Linked DNA regions of Homo sapiens: region 2 is linked to region 1. The links are contacts of gene promoters, found by promoter capture Hi-C in human tissues and cell types (Jung and others, 2019). All regions are on one chromosome and are shown on one strand. The core of a region is centred on a gene start or on the middle of the fragment in contact, and the rest is flanking DNA. Distances in the headings are between cores, read along the strand shown. Region 1 holds the start of COG6 (component of oligomeric golgi complex 6). Region 2 has its middle 75 kb from the start of NHLRC3.

The links. The method cuts DNA at HindIII sites, captures the fragments that hold promoters and counts their contacts. A contact is called where the count stands out against the background at its distance.
Region 2: a fragment that was not itself captured here is called in contact with the fragment with the promoter of COG6 in region 1 in 2 of the 25 tissues and cell types used here (dorsolateral prefrontal cortex and mesendoderm cells).

What each region holds. Positions count from the first base shown.
Region 1 is chr13:39,653,628-39,657,875 of GRCh38, reverse strand. It overlaps COG6 (component of oligomeric golgi complex 6), which reads right to left and starts at 2,214. Exons shown (of 19, transcript NM_020751.3): 1 at 1,997-2,214. The coding sequence starts at 2,149. RefSeq lists a silencer at 1,901-1,950. The HindIII fragment of the contact is 9,691 bases long and covers 1-4,248 here.
Region 2 is chr13:39,111,588-39,115,934 of GRCh38, reverse strand. No RefSeq gene overlaps it. Among named protein-coding and RNA genes, the nearest start is that of NHLRC3, 75 kb to the right of the region's middle. The HindIII fragment of the contact is 4,041 bases long and covers 1-3,851 here.

The DNA.
Region 1 (4,248 bases), core at 965-3,464:
GATGTCAGAAACAGAGTTATAAATTTGAGAGTAATCATGCTTTTTGCTACTTAAAACCATGAAAGTACAAGATTTTTCTTACAGAGAAAACATGAATGGAAGAGAGAGCAGAGAACCAAGCCCAGGACATCCCCATTGTACACTAAATTCTGCAGATATACATTTCTACACCTCCACTACTGTATATTCTAGTAGGCTTACCCTTTCATGTTTCTATTTGTTATTTTGAAATATTGGCTGGATTGACAAAAACAGTAAAACTATTTATATAAATTCAATTTAATATTTCAGAGGAAGCAAAAATATGTTTACAACTATAAATACTTACTGTACAGAAAAAAAAAACCCATGAAGTGAAGCAGTTTCTTTAGACTATAGCCTTGAAATGTCCTAAGGTCTGGTTCAAAGAAGTAATCAGTAATGTTGAACGAATGAAATCACAGACTCAGATGCAAATTACAGTTCCACCAGTTACTAGTTATATGACAACCTAGCTGCACTCTCTCCATGCTTTATTTTCCTCATGGTAAAAAGAAGGTTATGTGGCCGGGCGCAGTGGTTCACGCCTTGTAATCCCAGCACTTTGGGAGGCTGAGGCGGGCAGATCACCTGAGGTCAGGAGTTCAAGACCAGCCTGACCAACATGGAGAAACCCCGTCTCTAATAAAAATACAAAATTAGCCAGGCGTGGTGGCACATGCCTGTAATCCCAGCTACTTGGGAGGCTGAGGCAGGAGAATCGCTTGAACCCGGGAGGCAGAGGTTGCAGTGAGCCGAGACTGCGCCCATTGCACTCCAGCTTGGGCAAAAAGAGCAAAACTCTGTCCAAAAAAGAAGGCCATGTTATCTATATCAGAGCAAGTAGCAGTCTTAAATGATATAATAAATATCAATATGAGACACATTAAACACTTCATAAATTTTATGATAAAATTAATATTTGTTAAGAAAGAGTAAGTGCCAGGCTCTTTGCAAAGGACTTTACCTGGAGTCTCTCACTGAGTCCTCAAATAACAACCATGAGAAACTTAACAGCAGGATTCCTAATTCCTAAACAGAAGCTGAGATTAGTGAAGGGACTTACTCAAATCATGATGCACACATTTAGTGGTTCTATCTAATAAGTGGTAGTCTCCAGAGCCCTAATTTCTTATTCATTACATTGCAATGTTATTTTTTTACATATCGGAATCAAATTGTTATCGACAGCTTATTTTCAGTTACCTACATATTCACCTATAAAACTCTCTAACTTTGACATATGTTCTTCTTTATGTTACACTGTCATGACCAATTTACCTAGCGACCCACAGAGACAGAAGAGATGGCTGGGTATGTGAGGAGCTGTAAAGTCCAACTTAAGTTTCAGGAGGTACTTGTGAGAGCATGCTGTCAGTTTATCTTCTAAAGAAATACAGCCTGAGCCCACAAATCATAGCGCTTGGCTCAACAAAAACTAGTAGATATGAGTTCATTTCAGCCACGGGCAAAGGTAGTTCTTTCGCGCTGCAAATTATTGCAATTGTTGTCACTTGTCCGTGGAAATGCACCCTTATCCCTACCACTGCTCTCTTGGTCTCCCGACCCCCATTTGCGCTACCTTATCTTGGAATCTGCTCTTTTGCATCTGTTTCATATCCAGTCTTGTGCTCTCCTCCACTCTCCCAGCTCACACAGCCAAACGCCTCCAGGGGTGTTTGGAGGACACTTCTCGAGGCACCACCGTTCACCAATCCCATCCAGAGAGCCTTGAAGGCACCTTTTCAGGTGGAGAGAACACCCAGGAAACCCCTTCGCTTTTCCGGAGGTTGCTGGGGCTCCCCCTTCTCACCGCCCCCGGCGCCCGCAGAGCAGCGGAGCCCGCAGGTCTGGGGTCACTCGCGGTCCCTCTGCTGCCGGGACGAGGGAGACCGCGGTGGGTCCCTGACAGACGCCGCCCCTGGCCCGGCTCAGCCCCGCAGGAACCTGTGACTCCGGCCCCGCCAGCCCCGGTTACCTTGTCGTTGTCCAGCCGCGTCTCCAGGATCTTATGCAGCTTGCGCGACAGCGGGTTGCAGGTCGTCGCCGAGGTCCCGCCTGCCCCATTGTTGAGGCCGTTGGCAGCCCCGGTCGCAGACACTGCGACCACTTCCCCGCTGCCCTCTGCCATAGCGCTGCGCGTCCCGCCCCCTGCTGCCACCTCAGCCAGGCAGGGACCACGGAGGCAGCGCGAGTATTGCGCATGTGCAAATCGGCCGCGCATGCGCATCGGCCCCGGAAGTCTTCGCCGGGTAACCCTGCTTGGGCTCTCAGAAGCGTGAGGGGCGGAGAAGATGTGGGGGGCGGGACAAGACCCTCAGGTAGAAGGAGAAAATTTATAGGATTAGAGAGGACTTTGGAATTATGGATCTGCGACCTTCAGAGCTAATTAGATGACAACCAAATGTAGTATGTAAAATACACCATGACTTGTGCCTGGCATATACATTCAATATAAGTTAACTGAAAGTTTAAATTACATTTGCCTTATCTGAATTCATTTTTTTGAAAATTATTTATTGAAGGCATAGTATGTGCCAGGTACTCTGGTAGGCATTGGAGAATCTACATTGTGTGTCTGAAACAGACAAAGCTGTTAATAGATGTTATTAGGTTGTGATGAGTGCTCAGGGGATGAAGTAGTACAGTGAAAGAAAATGGAGGGAAAGGCCCACTTCACTCAGGGAGGTTTGGAGAGGAGTTGACACTTAAACTGAGATTTGAAGGAGAATCAGAATGTGAGGAGAAATCATTCCCAGGCAGAAGAAAGTGTGTAAGTGTACAGGCCTCAAAACAAGATGAACTTGGCCCTGACACAAATGGACCAGAGCCCATGTAGCTGTAAAGTAATGGATAAAAATGTAACAAGTTGAAAAAACTTCCCGGGAAACTCTGGAAAACAAACATCATTGCTTTTTTTCTTTCTTTTCTCAGTTTTTAAAATTTGGATCAAAATAAAATCGCTGGGCTTCTGTGAATTATTTGTCAGAAACACTATTTGGCTCTTGTCATAAATTTTCCTTGTTTCATATATGTCTATGTACATAGTTATATTGTATATCAGACTTAAGGGAAAATTACCTATTACAGAGGTCACATAAAGAAAGCACTGACAAAACCACTCATCTCTACTCTAATGAAGAAGAGAAGGCCCAACTATCCAAAAGAAAAAAATATACAAAAAGCAGCAATATCTAGGTATGAATTCAACAAAAAATACAGAGAACCTAGATGAAGAAAACTTTAAAATGCTACTGGGAGAACATAAAACTTAAATCAATGAAAAAATATATTGTTCTCTTCAACAGGAAGACTCAATATTGTAAGATGTCTTTTCTCTTTCACAGATAAATTTAAGTTCAGTGTAACCAAAATTAAAATATCAAAGGTTTACCTAAGGTGTATATATCCAAATGAATTTGCATATATACAAAGCAATAATATAATGTAGAGCTTGCAAATATGTACAATTAAAAGGAATGACGATGATAACATGCCAAGTCAGGAGCGGTCATGAAATACCACATATTGTATGACCTCTTTATGTGAAATCTCCCAAATAGGTAAATCAATAGAGATAGAAAGTAGATGAGTGGTTCTGGGAAGAGGAGTGTTGGGAAGAGGGAATGGGGAGTGTCAGTTCATGGTACAGGTTAATTTTTGGGGAGATGAAAATACTCTAAAGCTAAATTGTGGTGATGGTTGCACAACTCTGTAAATATACTAAAAAACACTGAACTGTACACTTTAAATGAATGAATTGAATGGCATGCAAGTTTCATCTCAAATCTGTTTTTTAGGCCAGGTATGGTGGCTCACACCTGTATTCCCAGCACTTTGGGAGGCTTAGGCAGGGGGATCTCGAGTTCAGGAGTTAAAGACCAGCCTGGGCAACATAGCGAGACCCTGTCTCTACAAAAAAAAAAAAAAAAATACGAAAACTAGTCGAGTGTGGTGGCATGCCTGTGGTCCCAGCTACTTGGAAGGTTGAGGTGGGAGTATCACTTGAGCTCAAGCCTGCGGTAAGTCATAATCATGCCACTGCCCTCTACTCTAGCCTGGGTGATGGAGCAAGGCCCTATCTTAAAATTGAAAAAAAAAAAATAAAGCTGTTTATTTTAAAAAGTAAATTGGAGATAAATAGACAAAATGTTTAAGTAATAAAAAATACAAATTTATATTAATTTTTAAAATCTTTATTTAGATATAATTTACAGGCCATAAACTTCA
Region 2 (4,347 bases), core at 582-3,081, 540 kb after region 1:
ATGACATGATACTATATCTAGAAAACACCATTGACTCAGCCCAAAAGCTTCTTAACCTGATTAGCAACTTCAGCAAAGTCTCAGGACACAAAATCAATGTGCACAAATCACAAGCATCCCTATACACCAATGACAGACAAACAGAGAGCCAAATCATGAATGAACGTCCATTTACAATTGCCACAAAAAGGAATAAAATATCTAGGAATACAGTTAACAAGGGAAATGAAGGATCTCTTCAAGGAGAACTACAAACCACTGCTCAAGGAAATCAGAGAGGACACAAGCAGATGGGAAAACATTCCATGCTCATGGATAGGAAGAATCAATATTATGAAAATGGCCATATTGCCCAAAGCAATTCATAAATTCAATGCTATTCCCATTAAACTATCATTGACATTCTTCACAGAATTAAAAAAAAAAAACTAAAATTCATATGGAACCAAAAAAGAGCTCATATAGCCAGGACAAACCTCAGCAAAAAGAACAAACCTGGAGGCATCACACCACCCAATGTCAAACTATATTACAAGGCTATAGTAACCAAAACAGCATGGTACTGGTACAAAAACAGATACATAGACCCATGGAACAAAATAGAGAACCCAGAAATAAGGCCACATGCCTACAACTATCTGATCTTTGACAAACTTGACAAAAACAAGCAATGGGGAAAGGATCCCCTATTCATTAAATGGTGTTGGGAAAACTGGCTAGCCATATACAGAAAATTGAAACTGGATTCCTTCCTTACACTTTATGCAAAAATTAACTCAAGATGGATTAAAGACTTAAATGTAAAACCCAAAACTATAAAAACTCTAGGAGAAAATCTAGGCAATACCATTCAGGACATGGGCATGGGCAAAGATTTTATGATGAAATCACCAGAAGCAATTGCAACAAAAGCAAAAATTGACAAATGGGATCTAGTTAAACTAAAGAGCTTCTGCACAGCAAAAAAAGCTATCATCACGGTGAATAGACAACCTACAGAATGGGAGAATATGTTTATAATCTATCCATCTGACAAAAGTCTAATATCCAGAGTCTACAAGGAACTTAAACAAATTTACTGGATGAAAACAATCCCATTAAAAAGTGGGCAAAATATATGAACAGATACTTCTCAAAAGAAGACATTCATGTGGCCAAGAAACAAATGATAAAAAGCTCAACATCACTGACAATTAGAGAAATGCAAATCAAAATGAAAATGAGATACCATCTCAAGCCAATCAGAATGGTGATTTTTAAAAAGTCAAGAAACAACAGATGCTGGTGAGATCATGGAGAAATAGGAAGGCTTTTACACTGTTGGTGGGAATGTAAATTAGTTCAACCATTGTGGAAGACAGTGTGGTGATTCCTCAAAAATTTAGAACCAGAAATACCATTTGACCCAGCAATCCCATTACTGGGTATATACCCAAAGGAACATAAATCATTCTATTATAAAGATACATGCATGAGTATGTTCATTGCAGCACTATTCACAATAGCAAAGACATAGAATCAACCCAAATGCCCATCAATTATAGACTGGATAAAGAAAATGTGGTACATATATGCCATGGACTATTATGCAGCCAAAAAAGGAATGAGATCATGTCCTTTGCAGGGACGTGGATGAAGCTGGAAGCCATTATCCTCAGCAAACTAATGCAGGAACAGAAAACCAGACAACACATGTTCTCACTTATAAGTGGGAGTTGAACAACAAGAACACGTGGGCACAGGGAGGGGAACAACACACACTGGGGCCTATTGGGGGAGGGGAGGGGAGGGGAGAGCATTAGAAAAGAGCTAATGGATGCTGGGCTTAATACCTAAGCTGATAGGTCCAGCAAACCACCATGGTATATGTTTACCCATGTAACCAACCTGCACATCCTGCATTTGTACCACAGAACTTAAAAAAATAAAATAAAACAGTAAAAAAGATGATGTAAAAGGTATACATTTAAATGCCCATATCTGCAAAATCCCAGAAATTAGCTACTTTGCAAGGTTTCCCAATTTATAAAGTAAGAAATTTTGACTATGATCTCTAAGGTACTTTCCAGCTCTGTTTTGGTAATATGTTTAATATCAATTCCATTCCAACTGTTTTCTTTCTCGACATACATTAGAATAAAAACAGCAGAATACATGACTCTTTCCTTTATATACTTGTTCAATACATCTTTATTAAGAACATACCATATCCCATGCATTTTTTGAAACACTAAAAATATATTAATGTTCAAAGCTGATGAAGTATCCCACCCTCATGGAGCTTATATTTTAGTGGGAGAAAATACATAAACAAACAAATAAATAAAATATGTAATATATAAGATAAATTCTATCAAGAAAAGGAAAGCAGGAAAGGGATGGAGATTCTATGGGGTAGAAACAATTTTTAATAGGCTCGTTAAAGAAGTTCTCCTTGAGAAAGTAACATTTGAACCATGCGTATAGTTATAGGTATTGTGGGATGATCTGGAAATCCTCAGCTACTTGAAGACTGACATAAGTCAGTAAACATAAAAGTGAGATTTTAGCGACTGTTCACAAGAAAGATCACGGCGGTGAGCCTGTGAGCAGGGGCTGATTTAATGAGAAGCTAAAGAAGCTTCAGTTTCAAAGACCCTCATTTGCATGGGCCCTTTTGAGGACCCCAGGAGAAGCTAGCAATACATTTGCCTGGTATTTTGTGATCTTTTACTTGAAAAGAGCACCCCAAAGTGTATAAAGCTCAGTCCCACAGAATTTGGATCCTCTCCAGCTGTAAATGTCACACAGGGAGAGAGGTGATGGTGTGGCTCATGCCAGGAGCACACAGAATTCAAGGGACTCCCATTGAACCTGCTGATAAATAATTATCCAGCTAGTGGTGGATTGCATTATTGTTCTCTACTCTTTCCTTCTCCCTTTATCTACCACCTTAGTCATAAGACTTTGCAGTTTGCCCTACAAGAGGCAGAGTATATTTCCTTGCCTAGCTGATACTGGATTTAGCCGGGAAGCTTGCTTTGGCCAATTGAATGTTCTGAATGGGATGAAAGCAGTCCATTTAAAACACATCTATAGGCTTGGGGTTGTCCTTTTGTGCTCTTTCCTTTTGTCATGAGAAGAATGTGTCCAGGGTAACCTTCTAGTCTCAGAATGAGTAGCACGTGGAATGTACCTGAACTCAGCCTAAGCCTGAAGCCACGGCCAGCCAAATCCAATCTAGATAAGTTGGACCTCAGCCAACCTGCAAACAAGAGTGAGAAATAAATGCTTATTTTTTAAATACCAACTGGAATTTTGTAGCAAGACTATGTTAACTATGTAGCATAATTGATGGAGTAAGTAATACAGTTTTGTCAGCTTAGGCTAAGTTATGCTGCAGTAACAAGAGATCCCCGTATTCCTCACTCATGTAATAAGCCATTGTGGGTCAGCTGAAACTCTGCCCCTTATTTTCACACAGGGGCCCTATTTGATGGGAAAGCCCCTATCTGGATTTACTGGTCTCCAAGCAGAGGACAAAGAGAGATAGGGAACTATTCACTAGCTCTTAAAATTTCTGCTCAGAAATAACTTACATGACTTCACTCAAATTTTATTGTTCTAAATAAGTTACACAGCTCCACCTGAACAGGGCAGGAATGTGTAATCCTTCTGCAGGAAGCAACACAACAGAGAAAGGGCCCCCAGGAAAACTTTCACTTTGGGAAGAGGCAGTGAATAATTTGAAAAATAATAAAATCTACCATAACAATATACCTTGGACATATGAGTACATATTATGTAGTGAATTGTCTCCATCCCCTGCGCCTATCTTTTAGTTTTTGTCCTGATTGGCTTGAATTATGCTTTAACTCGAATCTTCAAGCCAAAGGGTGTATGTGTGCATTCATGCGAATCTGCACATTATCACACACTCCCCTGGTGGGATGTGTCCACTACTCTTTACAGGACAGCCAAGCAATGATATACAGCTTATAATTTTTCCCCGATATTAATAATATCAACACTGCTCTGCTCTCTAAGCATCAGATTTCCCATGGAAAAGAAATCAGAAATCATTAATTTTCCACATCAAAATGACTGTATAGTGGTGCCATGATGCTATAGAGACCTCATTTTCACCTGTTGCTTTGGAACAGTGAGTCCTAAATGCTTGGATGTCAAAATTGATCCTGCTGGACCTAAATTCCACCCAACCTCCACCTCATGCCACAAAGGCTGAATTTTATGTTTCACCCTAGTATGGAAGAAAATTCTATAATTTCTTTCTTCTGTAATTAAAATCTAAAGAACCAGTTAGTCAAAGCAGTGCATCATTTTTCTTTGGCTTTCTTTTTTTATTTT